Linked DNA regions of Homo sapiens: regions 2 and 3 are each linked to region 1. Evidence: promoter capture Hi-C in human tissues and cell types (Jung and others, 2019). All regions are on one chromosome and are shown on one strand. Each heading gives the region's core, a stretch centred on a gene start or on the middle of the fragment in contact. The rest is flanking DNA. Distances are from core to core; before and after follow the strand shown.

Region 1 (4,071 bases), core at 89-2,588:
GGTGTCGGCGGGTACGTTGGGGATGCACTCGCGCAGTTCGGCGAAGGCGCTGTTGATGCTCTGAGTCCTGCGCCGCTCCTTGCGGTTGGCGGTGCCTCGGCGCTTCACCGGGCGCGGCCCCCCCAGGCCCGGGGGCCCGGCGCCCGGCGGCACCCCCCCGTAATGGGAGTGGTCCAGGCCGGCGGCGCCGCTGGCATACTCGGGGCTGTAGGACAGGGCCATGCTGTAGTCGGGGGGCGACATCTCGGGGTGGCCGATGAGCCAGCCATGGAAGTAGGGGTTCTCCTCATGGCTGCAGCGGCTGGCGGCGGCGGCGGCAGCTGCGGCGGCGGCGGCGGCAAACGGGTAGCCCTCGTGGTGCACCACCGGGTGGTGGGGAAAACCACCTACCAGACTCATTTCGCCCTCCGCGCCCCTCCACGCGCCCCAGCGTGCGCGCAGCCCCGCCGCGCCCTCGGCCCGGGCCCCTGCCTCAGCGCTCGGCGTCCTCCCCCACCCCCCACCCCCCAGCCCCCGGGCGCCCGGGCCCGCCCGGCAGCCGCAGAGGGGGCTGCTGCAGCCCGGGCCCCGTCCCCCCGCCTGGCCAGCCGGGCCCGCCTCAGCAGCGCTGCGGCCGCCGGCTCCCCATGGGGCGCGGCGAGCTGGTCCTGGCACCGTGCGCCCCTGGCCGCCGCCGCCGCCGCCTCCGGTTCCCGCCTTGCTCCACGGCCCGCGCTTCGGCTCCTGCTTCCCGGGCTGCTGCGCGGAGGCAGAATCCTCTCGTGCTCATACAAAGGTGCCGGGGCTCCCGCGAGGCTGGTACGCGGAGTCTCGGGAATCCAAGCCCGGGCCGCGGTCCTGGCACCGAAGCTAACCCGGAATCCAGGGGCGAGTCTGAGCCGCGGCTGGAGGAGCCGGTCCAGCTGTGCCGGGGGGCGGCGGGGTCGACTGCTCACTGCAAAGCTACCTCCGTGCGACCCTCCCCTTCCCGCCTCTTCCCCTCCCCCCACCAGCCCGATCTGGGTTCTTGGGCGCTTATTGTTTTAATGAAATTTTTGGTTGTTGTTGTTTTGGTCCTTAAATGTGATTTTAGCTGCGAGTAACGTGTCCTCGCTCCTCTCGCGCTCTCTCGGAGGGTTTTCAGAGAGGTCTCAGTGCATCCATTTTCTCAGATCCTCTCCTTTCGGGGCAAGGATCTGGGGCCCTGAATGAGCCTTGGAGCTCGAAGACCGCGGCTCGGGCTCTCGGAGGGCTCTGCGCGGTGGCCGAGGAAGCTCCGGGGTGACGGCGGTGGTTCTCCTGGGCTGGACGACGTGAGGGGAGCAAGCGGATTTTCCCAGCAAGATCTCCATGTACAGCTACATCTTTAGGGCCGCTCGGGTTAATATATGTCGTCAGAGGCTCCTCACGCCAATCCCGGGGCGGCAGGGGCGGCGCCTCGAGCTCTCGGCAATAAAACTTTTTGATGTTCACGTTGCTAATTGCCGAGGTCCTCTTCCAGGATTGGCTACCTCCTCATAACCATAAGATAATTAAAACTTGGCGGGGGGGGGGGGCAGGGTTAAAAAAACTTTTTTTATCAGTCAGAGGATAATGCAAGTGTTTAACAGATGCTTCACTATTAAAATATTTTCCCCCCAAGTCTCAAATATTGAAGAATCTCTAACCAGGTACAGTATCACTCTGCTCTCTTTTCTGGTTGAAAAGAAAGAAAGAAAGAAAACGCAGGTATTGCTTTTCGAAGTGCTTTGTAGGTAATCGAGGTAAGAAAATATACGCAGGCAGCCTCTTACAATTTTATGCAGGGGCGCCGGGAGCCTCGTGACGGGCGGTGGGGGCCCCCACAAAGGCGCGGCTGGGAGCTGGCGCTCTTTGCCCCAGCAGGGACGAGGAGCGGCTGGAGAAGGGTGTTTCTTTGACCCGTTTACAGGCTCGAAACGCCGGTCTCAGTGGCTATTGAGTTACCCACCAAGTTACCCCGGTTAGAGCTGTTTGGGGTGGCTCACGTTATTGCGGCAAACTTTGGAGATGACGGCTGAGTCCTCCGGGCGAACATGTCAAGCCGATTGTAAATGCTGTTATTTCCACATCCTTCAGGGACACCAGTCCCTACGAAGACCTTGGGCGATTTTGAAGTGCGGGCACCTCGATTCCCCGAATCTGTAGTGTGGCTGGTATCGGTGTTCCCCTGGTTTAACTAGCCTGTTTGGTAAGTAACTGAATATTTTTTACGGCGTGTTCAGAGCTTATTTTCCAGTTTTTATGAACAAACATATAAATATATCTCTGCATTCCTGCCTCCCTCATAAAAGCGGGCATCTGTGGAAAGCAGGTTTAGTTATCGGAGGGGAACCATTAAACGCCAGTTTAAGAGGCAGGCCGGGAGGACGGCTCGTGGATGTTGAGACTGCTGGCCTTGGTGATCTTGAACGCATTATAACGGAAAATGGATCTCCACTTGTAAGTCACCGGGCCGCGGGGCACCCGGGCCGCAGCGCCCGTGTGGCATGAGCTTCTTGAGAAGGCTCACGTGCGGCGAGGGCGGGTGGTAAATGGCAGGAGCTGAAATCACCCCAGGCTTGGCCCCAAGCCGAGAGGGGAGGCTGATGTGTATATGCAGATTCCACCCGAAGGAGTTCGGTGTGGAAAACGGTGTCAACAGGAGCCCGCGGGCTGTAAATTAGAGGGAGGCGAGGGCCTGCGGCGCCAGCGCGGGACAGGGCGGCCTGGGGCTCGCCGCTGGTCAGGCCAGGTTAGCCCAAGGGAGACCAAAGACTCCACCTTGAGCATCGCCCTTTGGAGGCGGGCAGAGTCCGGCCGCAGGCCACAAAGCGATCCCCACCCGAAGGACTCCACAAGGACAGTCCTTTCCTTGCTCACCGCCGACAAAGTGGTTGGGGCAGGAAGGCGAGGTCAGTGCGAATGGAGGGCGCCCAACTTCGGTGTTGCAGTTGACTCTGTGCTCGGGCTCTGCCCTCCACTAGCCCTAGAGTCTTGGGCAGCAGGATTGAGAAATATATATATTTCAGGTTTGCCGCGGCTGGGCGGTAGGAGACAGGGACTTAAAAGCCCAGGATTAGAGTCGGTGCAGGGCCCATTCTTTTTCTAGGAAAGGGGTTAACATCCTTGAACGTCCCCAGACAAGCGTCTTAAAGCATTGAACCTAGAATAGGGATTAACTGAAACTAGGCTCGTTGGTAAGCGCCAGGGGCTTGCAGTTGAGCTCGGAACAAAATAGTGACCTACTGCTCTAAACCCCCAACTTGCGTGGGTCTGCAATTTTTTAGCACAAGGAGAGCCTTTTAAAGACCTGGTTCTTCAAGGAAAGAATGCAGGTAGTGTGGTTGGGGGTTCTGTTTACATTTTCACCCGGAGGCAAACCCCGAATGTGTAAATACTGGTAGTTCAATTCTCTGACATTTGATACGTTTTTGAAAAGTCTGTTTATAAAAACACATTTAGGCCTTGGGAGCAGGTAGACAAAGTAAGATTGCACTGGGGCTGGGAACATATAAAAATTCAGGGAAATTAGTTGGTTGGCTGCTTTAAGACCCAAAGGGAGTTTTGGGAATTGAAGGGAGGAAGAAGAGTCCAGAGGAGGGCTGAGTTAGGGATTGAGATGCTCTGTCCACCAGAGACCAGCGGTGAGTGGCCTCACTTTTGAAAGCTTCAGAACTTGCCACATTTAGCTTTTCTCATGCTTTTAATTGAAACAAACAAACAAACAAAAATGAATGAATTACCTCGTGGCTCCAGATAGCATTGCAAGTGGTAAAGGAAATGGACAACATGGTACAGAAAAAAGAAATCATAAAAGATGCTAATCTGAACATCAGTTCTCACTCACAGTGTCATTATCAGTTAACTGCTGTGGTCCAAGGGCCTAAGACTTGATGTGGCTCAGAAACCCAAATCCAGAGGTCACTGCCTTAGAAAGCTGGCTTGATGAGAGGGGACAAATGGATGAACCCTAGTGGTGTCCCCAACTGTAGTAACTGACTCAGGGAGGCCAGGCTGGCCCTGACTGGTTGAGCTCTACCCTAAATGCACAAACGCATCCACTTTTCTCTTGCAGTGTCCTTTGGCCTGTTT
Region 2 (4,546 bases), core at 596-3,095, 150 kb before region 1:
CAGGGGCTCAAAAAATAAGTTAGTTATTTGATTACTAGCTTCAAAAGAATAATTTTGGGAAAGGCCTAAAAATTAATGCCTGAAATACATGTCTTTACAAAAAATAAATTCTATGTTTTTCTACATGAAGTCTTAAAATTAAGAAACATAATAAAATATACAATTAATCATTTTAAAGTATACAATATGGTGGTATTCAATGTATTTGCAATACTGTATAACCAGCAGCTCTAATTTCAAAACTTTCTTGTCACCCAACAAAAACAGCCATACATAGTCACTCCGCCTTCTTCCCTCTCCCTATTCCCTGGTAACCTCCATTCTGCTTTTTATCTCTATGGATTTGCCTATTCTGGATATATTATAAGGGAATCATACAATGAAGTACTGCAAATTGGATGAACCTTGAAAACATGCCAAAAAGCATAATGCTAAAAAAGCATGTTTTCAAGGTTCATCCAAGTTGCAGTACTTCCTTTTTCAGGCTGAATAGTATTCCATTGTATCTATTGAACACAGTTTATTTATCCATTTATTTGTTGATGAACATTGGGTTTCTACCTTTGGCTATTATGAATAATGCTGCTGTAAACATTCATGTACGAGTTTTTCTGTGAACATATGTTTTCATTTCTCTTGGGTGTATACCTAGCAGTAGAACTGCTGGTACGTAAATAATTCTGTACTTAACTTTTTGAGGAACTTCCAATCTTTTCCAAGTTGCTATACTCTTTTACATTTCTACCAGCAATGTATAAAGGCTTCTATTCAATTCACTAACACTTGTATTTCATTAAAAAAAAAATTAAAGCCATCCTACTGGGTGTGAAGTGGTATCTCATTGTGGATTTTATTTATATTTCCTTAATGATCAATTTTGTTGAATATCTTTTCATGTGCTCTTGGCCACTTATATATCTTCTTTGGAGAAGTGTTTATTCAAGTCCTTTTTATTCTTTTTTTTTAGTTGGGTTGTTTTTTGTTGTTGAAATGTAGGACTGTTTATTTATTGTGAGTATTAAACCCTTATAAGATACATGATTTGTAAATATTTTCTCTCATTCTGTAAGTTGCCTTTTCACAGTACTGATAATGTCCTTTGATGCACAAAAGTTTAAATTTTTACATAGTCCAATTTATCTATTTTTTCCTTTGTTGCTCATATTTTTGGTGTCAAAAGAATCCATTGCCAAAACCAACATCATAAACATTAATGTATATGTTTTCTAGGAGTTCTACAGTTTTAACTCCTAAATTTAGATTGTTGAACTGTTGTGAATCAATTTTTATACATGAATGAGGTAGGGGTCCAACTTCATTCTTTTGCATGTGATTAGCCACTTGTCCAGTGTGATTTGTTGAAGAAACTATTTTTTCCCAACTGAATAGTCTTGACCCTCTTGAAATCAGTTGGCCATAGATGTTTATTTCTGCACTCTCAATTCTATTCCATGATCTATGTATTTATTCTTATGCCAATACTATACTCTTGACTACTGTAGACTTGTAATAAGTTTTGAAATCAGGAAGTAGGAGTCCTTCTACTTTGTTTTTCTTTTTCAGTATTGTTTTGGCTGTTCAGAGCCCCTTGCTGTTCCATATGAATTTGAAGATTGGTTTTTTTCATTTTTTGCCCAAAAGGCTATTAGAATTTTGGTGGAGATTGCATTGAATCTATGGACCATTTTCAGATTGCCAGCTTAACAATATTAAGCATTCCAATCCATGATTGTGGGATATCTTTCCATTTTTTTAGGTCTTCTTTAATTTCTGCAGTGTTTTATAGTTTCCAGTGTACAAGTCTTTCACCTCTTGGTTAAATTTATGTTTATGTATTTTCTTCTTTTTGACACTATTATAATTGTTTTCTTAAATTCTTTTTTGAATCATTCATTAGAGGTGTGTGCTGATGCTGCCACTGTGCTGAATTGATCAGCTCTAGTAATTTTTTTTGTGTGTGTGTGGATTCCATGGGATTTTTCTATATATAGAATCATGTTATCTGCAAACAAAAATGGTTTTACTTCTTCCTTCCCAATTTGGATGCCTTTTATTTCTTTTCCTTGCCAAATTGCCCTGGCTACGATTTCCAGTACAATGTTAAACAGTAGTGGTGAAAGCAGGAATTGTTGTCTTGTTCCTTTTCTCAGGAGGAAAACTTTCAGTCTGACCATTCAGTGTGATGTTAGCTGTGGGTTTTCATAAATGTTCTTTGTCATGTTAAGGAAGTCCTCTTCTGTTGCTAATTTGCTAAATGTTTTTTTATCATGAAAGGGTGTTGAATTTAGTCAAATACTTTTAGTATTGAGATGATTTTTTTTTCCTTAGTAGTATTGAGATGACTTTTTTTTTTTTTAGTGTATATTACATTGACCTTCTTATGTTGAACCACCCTCGCATTTCTGGGATAAATCCCACTTGGTCATAGTGCATAATTTTTTTAATGTTCTGTGGGATTTGGCTTGTTAATATTTTGTTGACGGTGTTTGCATCTATACTCATAAGGGATATTGGTCTATATTTTTCTTATGGTATCTTTATCTGACTTTGGTATCAGGATAATGCTGGCCTCATAGAACGTGTTAGGAAGTATTCTTTCCTCTTCTATTTTTGGAGATTTTTGAGTAAGAATGATATTAATTCATCTTTAAATGTTTGACAGAACTTATGGGTGAACCTATATGGTCTAGGCTATTTCTTCGATGGAAGAGTTTTGACGGATTTAATCTTTTTACTTATATAGGTCTTTTTGTTATATATAGGTCTGTTGAGACTTTGTGTTTCTTTTAAGTTATTTTTGGTAAGTCATGGAATTTGTCTATTTCACCTAGATTATCTAACTTGTTGTCATACGAATTGTTCCTATAATTCTCTTATAATACTTTTAATTTCTGTAAGGTCAGCAGTAATATCCCTACCTTTATTTCTGATTCTACTTATTTATGTCTTCTCTCTTTTTTCTTAGTAGTCTAGCTAAGGATTTATCAATTTTGTTGGTATTTTCTTTGATCTCATGGATTATATTTTTTTCTCTATTTCATTTTTCTCTTTTCGGATCTTCATTATCTTCTGCTGGCTTTGGATTTAGTTTGCTCTTCTTTGTCTGTTTTCTTAATGTGTAAATTTAGGTTGATTTGATATTTTTCTTTTTTAATGCAGGCATTTACAGCTGTAAATTTTTCTCTGAATACAGTTTTTCCTGCATTTTGTAAGTTTTGGAATGTTTGTTTTTGTTTTCAGTCATCTTAAATTATTATCTAATTTCTCTAGTGATTTATTCTTTAAACCACTAAAGAAAATTCACAAATACCTGGAACTAAGCAATATACTTGTTGTGAAGCAATATACTTTTTGTGAACAAGTATATTGCTTAGTTCCAGGTGTTTGTGAATTTTCTAGTTTTCCTTCTGTATTGATTACTCATTTTATTGTGGTTCAAAAAGATAGTATGTATCACCTTAGTCTTTTTAAGCTTATAGATAATTGTTTTATGGAAGAACATATAGTCTATCCTGAAGAATGTCCCATGTGTACTTGAGAAGACTGTATTCTGCTATTGTTGAGTGGAATGTTCTGTACGTGTCTCTGGGGTCTAGTTGGTTTTGTAGTATTGTTCAAGCCTCCTACTTCCTTATTGGTTTTCTTTCTACTTGTCTATCAATTGTGGAAAGTGAGGCATTAAGGTCTCCAACTATTATTGTAGAACTGTATATTTCTCCCTTCAGTTTTCTAAAGGTTTGTTTTATATATTTTCTGGCTGTCATATGGTGCATATATGTTTATAATTGTTATATCTTTTTGATAAATTGAAACTTAACAACATAAAATGTCCATCTTTGCTCTTGTAACATGTTTTTACTTAACATCTAATTTGTCTGTTATTAGTATAGCCATCCCAGCTTTTTTTTGTTTATAATTTGCACATATTTACATAACGTTTTAATAGTAAAATGCAGATTATGATATCTAAGCAAGTGATGGTGGTTCAAAATAAATTTTTGTCATGTTATTGTTTATTCATTTAGTGGAGTTATTTTTAAAATGTCAAGCAAGGTTTTTCTTATAAGCTAAAATAATAGATGCAGGAAAGCTAATATTCAGAGGAAAATTTGCTGTTTTTATACTTATATGTATATTTTTAAGGGTTAATATTGCTTACTATAGAATTTATTCCTTTGTGATTATGAATTCCTTGCATTTCTTTCTAGCTAAGAGTTGATGCTTGCTGTACACTTGAGTTTATTGTGTGTATCTTGTCCTAGTTGCATTAATAGTCTACACAGTCAACTATAGTTCTCAAATAATAGTCATATTAATTGCTACCAGATTATTACATATATGAATATATATTTTATATATAGTATATATATGTATTTATGTATATATACTTTAATGATACTAAATGTAGATATCAAGTCAGCTTTTTATACATTATATCCAATGGACTTTTCATTTGACTTCTTAACCTCTGAAAATGTAGATCACATAAACTCTTGAAAATATACTATGGCTTTTAAAGTTCTTAGAATATATCAGGTAAGTATAT
Region 3 (4,515 bases), core at 828-3,327, 250 kb after region 1:
GTTGTTCTTTTATGAGTTGCTCTGATGGTTTGAGTTGGTTGGTCTCCAGCCAGGATGTGGTGCTTTCAAGAGAGCATTGGCTGTGGTGGTATAGGGGAGATACGAGCTTGCCCTAGGGTTGCCTGTATAAGTACTTGGGTTTCTCAGGAGGTGGGTGGGGCCGTAGAGTTCCCAGGGGATTATGTCCTTTGTCTTTGACTACCAGGGCAGATAAAGAAAAACCATCAGGTGGGGGCAGGGTTAGGTGGGTCTGAGCACAGAATGCCCTTGAGTGGGACTTGCTATGGCCACTGTGGTGGATGGGGGTGTGGTTGTCTGGTTAATGGAGTTATGTTCCCAGGGAGATTATGGTTGCCTCTCCTGTGTCAGGCAGTCATCAGGCAAGTGGGAGAAAAATAGCAGTGACAGGCCTCACTCAGCTCCCACATAGCCAGCAAGGACAATCTCACTCCTGCTGTGCTCCACCAACAGCCAACGGAGACAAGTTTATATCCAGGCCTCTGCTGTGCAGGGCTGAGATCCTGTCCGTTGCTATAAGCCTCCCCATTAAGAAAGCAAGCAGGGCTCTCAAGCCTCACCCTCCCCTGCCTGCCGTGGTGTCTGTGCTCATATCTGCACTTCCATTGCACCTCCTGACCCCCATCCCAAATTCTGCCCAGGAAAATTTGCACTCTGTCAAAATTATTACTAAGTTCAGCTGGACGTTTCTTTCTCTCTGTGACCTCTCCCTAATTCCACTAGCAACCCTCCTCAAGTACCCCTGTGAGATAAACTCAGAAATGGCTTCCCTGGGCCGCTTTGGGGACTGAGAGTGCCTACAGGGCTCTTCCCACTGCTTCTTCTACTTTTATATTTCACTCAGCTCTCTAAATTCATTTCAGCTCTAGGTAAGGTTAAATCCTTCTTCTGTGATCTGGATTTTCAGACTCCTAGGTGAGGATGTGTGTTTGGGGGCAGACTTCCTCCTCTTACACTTTGGGTACTCACAGTGTTTTGGCTGTCTCACAGAGTTTGCAGTGGCAAACTCCTTCTTTCAAAGTGTCTGCAAATTCTCTCAATTTTCCTGGTATGTTCCTGAGGTAGTTCTTGGAGCAAATGTTCACAGTGTGGTTCTCCACATGCCGTTCTGTCCATCTAAGTGGGAGTTGCAAGTTAGTCCTGCCTCCTGTCTGCTATTTTCCCCTCTAATCCAGAAACTGATTTTTTTTTAAACAAATTGAAGATCTATGACAGCTCTGCATCAAGCAAGCCTTTTGGTATCATTTTTCCAACAGTATCTCTGTGTCACATTTTGGTAACTTTTGCAATATTTAGAACTTTTTCATTGTTATTATATCTGCTATGGTGATCTGTGGTCAGTGATCCTTGATGTTACTATTATAATTGTTTTGGGGCTCCACAAACCATACCCATAGTAGACCACAAACTTAATAAATGTTGTATGTGATCTGACTGCTCTACTGACTAGCTGTCCCCCCATGTCTCTCCCTCTTCTCAGGCCTCCCTATTCCCTGATACACAGCAATATTAAAATTAGGCTAATTAATAACTCTATAAGGCCTGTGAGTGTTCAAGTGGAAGGAAACATTGCACATCTCTCACTTTAAATCAAAAGCCAGAAATGATTAAGCTAAGTGAGGAAGGCATGTCAAAAGCCAAGAATGGCTAAAAATTAGGCCTCTTGCACCAAATAACCAAGCTGCAAATGCAAAGGGAAACTTCTTGAAGGAAATTAGAAGTGCTAGTCCAGTGAACACATGAATGATAAGAACGTGGAACAACAACCTTATTGCTGATACAGAGAAAGTTTGAGTACAAAGCCTAATTCAGAGCAAAGCCTTAACTCTCTTCAGTTCTATGAAGACTGCAAGATGTGAGGAAGCTGCAGAAGAAAGATTTGAAGCTATTAGGGTTAGTTAATTAGGTTTAAGGAAAGACACCATCTCCATAACATAAAAGTGCAATGCGAAGCAGCAAGTGCTGATGGCGAATTTGTAGCAAGTTATCCAGATGTAGTTAAGATTGTTCATGAAGGTGGCTACACCAGAAAAATGGATTTTGATAGAAGCAAACTTCTGTTTAGAGAAGATGCCATTTAGGACTTTCACAGCTAAAGAGCAGTCAATGCCTTATGCCAAAGCTTCAAAGGACAGGCGAATTCTCTCGTGAGGGGCTAATGCAGATGGTGAATTTAAGTCAAAGCCAATGTTCATTTATTATTGCAAAAATCCTAGGATCCTTAAGAATTATGCTAAATTTACCCTGCCTGTGCTCTAGAAATGGAACAACAAGCCTGGATGATGGAACATCTGTTTACAGCTTGACTCACTAAATATTTTAAGCCCACTGTTGAGAACTACTGCTTAGAAAAAAGTATTCCTTTCCAAGTATTACTGCTTATTAACAATGCACCTGGTCACCCGGGAGCTCTGACGGAAATGTATAAGGAGATTAATGTTGTTTTTATGCCTTCTAACACAACATCCGTCCTGTAGCCCATGGATCAAGGAGTAATTGTGATTTTGAAGTCTTATTATTTAAGAAATACAGTTTATATTTGCTGTAGATAGTGATTCCTCTGATGGAACTGGGCAAAATAATTTGCAAACCTTCTGGAAAGGATTCACCATTCTAGATGTCATTAAAAATATTCCTGATTCATAGGAGGAGGTCAAAATATCAATATTAACAGGAGTTTGGAAGTTGATGCCAACTGTCATGATGACTTTGAGGGGTTCAAGACTTCAGTTGAGGAATTAACTATAGAAGTGGTGGAAATAGCAAGAGATCTAGAATTAGAAGTGGAGCCTGAAGATGTGACTGAATTGCTGCAATCTCCTGATAAAACTTGAATGGATGAGTAGTTGCTTCTCATGTATAAGGAAAAGAAATATGGATGAAGCTGGAAACCATCATTCTCAGCAAACTATCACAAGGACAAAAAACCAAACACCTCATGTTCTCACTCATAGGTGGGAATTGAACAATGAGAACACATGGACACAGGAAGGGGAACATCACACATCAGGGACTGTTGTGGGGTGGGGGGAGGGGGGAGGGATAGCATTAGGAGATATACCTAATGCTAAATGACGAGTTAATGGGTGCAGCATACCAACATGGCACATGTATACATATGTAACAAACCTGCACGTTGTGCGCATGTACCCTAAAACTTAAAGTATAACATTAATAAAATAAAAAAACTAAAAAAAAAGAAATAGTTTCTTACAATGAAATCTACTCCTAGTAAAGATGTTGTGAACATTGTTGAAATGACAACAAAGGATTTAGAATATTTCATAAATTTAGTTGATAAAGCAGTGACATGGTTTCAGAAGATTGATTTCAATTGTGAAAGAAATTCAAAGGGTAAAATGCTGTCAAGCAGCATTCCTTGCTACAGAGAAATCTTTCGTGAAAGAAGCATCAACTGATGTAACAAACTTCATTGTCTTGTCTTAAGAAATTGCCACAACCAACCCAACCTTCAGCAACCATTACCCTGAGCAGTCAGCAGCCATCAACATGGAGAAAGACCTTCAACCAGCGGAAAAATTATGACTTGCTCAAATGATTGTTAGCATTTTTTAGCAATAAAAGATTTTTTAAATGTTATGTACATTTTTTAGACGTAATGCTTTAGCAAACTTAATGGACTACAGTATGGTGTAAACCTAACTTTTACATTCACTGGGAAACCCAAAAATTCATGGGACTAATTTTATTGCAATATGTGCTTTATTTCAGCAGTCTGGAACCAAATGAACCCACAAAATCTGTATTCTGATGCCACTTGGCCTAGGGAATGCAACTGCTCAAGAGTAATGGATGAACAACTGGAATTGCAAAGGCTTCAACAGTAGTGTTTTGATAAATGCCTCAGACCTTAATGCTTATAAAAATTGGTGAACCCACAGTAGTCTCTGGAAGTGTCTTGAAGAAAAATGGTCGAAATATGTTTAGTCAGAAAGCCAATCTGTGAAAATATAATAGTTTCTGAAGTCTTAAGCAATTCATGACTGGCTAGGAGCAGACGTTCCAACATACCTCTTTCAGAGCCTGGGATGTTAAAATACCATTTAGATCCTTGAAGTAAGCTGATATTTTCACCTCATAAAAGTACTTCTGCATGTTCACCTGAGAAGAAGAAAAAAGTGACATTTTCTAGTGGCTTTCATGAAGTATCCCAGTACTCTCAAAAGGAAGAAACAGAAAACTCTTCATTGCCAGATGCTTGGAGATGGGAGGGAGGTAGTACATCAGTATCTGTAATTCTTATAGCAGTATTGTTTCAAAACATGCTATGTACATACTTACATACCTATGAACAGACATGTCAACATTCTTTAGCAATCAATCTAAAGTCTTTTCCTCCTAGACTCCTGTTCTCTCTGCAGTATATTAGAATGCAAAGATTTCAGCAGGAGTTGGATTCATTCTTGGATACCACTTAACTATTCTGAATTTCCTGTATGTCAGCTTTCTCTGAGTTTTTAATCCTATGAGAGATGC

Evidence for each region. The method cuts DNA at HindIII sites, captures the fragments that hold promoters and counts their contacts. A contact is called where the count stands out against the background at its distance.
Region 2: a fragment that was not itself captured here is called in contact with the fragment with the promoter of HAND2 in region 1 in 1 of the 25 tissues and cell types used here (H1 embryonic stem cells).
Region 3: a contact is called between a fragment that was not itself captured here and the fragment with the promoter of HAND2 in region 1, in 2 of the 25 tissues and cell types used here (H1 embryonic stem cells and spleen).

What each region holds. Positions count from the first base shown.
Region 1 is chr4:173,528,891-173,532,961 of GRCh38, forward strand. HAND2 (heart and neural crest derivatives expressed 2) reads right to left here and starts at 1,339. Exons shown (of 2, transcript NM_021973.3): 1 at 1-1,339. The coding sequence starts at 399. HAND2-AS1 (HAND2 antisense RNA 1) reads left to right here and starts at 1,481. Exons shown (of 5, transcript NR_136196.1): 1 at 1,481-1,649; 2 at 2,077-2,188. The HindIII fragment of the contact is 12,639 bases long and covers 1-4,071 here.
Region 2 is chr4:173,379,653-173,384,198 of GRCh38, forward strand. No RefSeq gene overlaps it. Among named protein-coding and RNA genes, the nearest start is that of SAP30, 11 kb to the left of the region's middle. The HindIII fragment of the contact is 4,980 bases long and covers 1-4,335 here.
Region 3 is chr4:173,777,920-173,782,434 of GRCh38, forward strand. No RefSeq gene overlaps it. Among named protein-coding and RNA genes, the nearest start is that of LINC02269, 120 kb to the right of the region's middle. The HindIII fragment of the contact is 3,360 bases long and covers 398-3,757 here.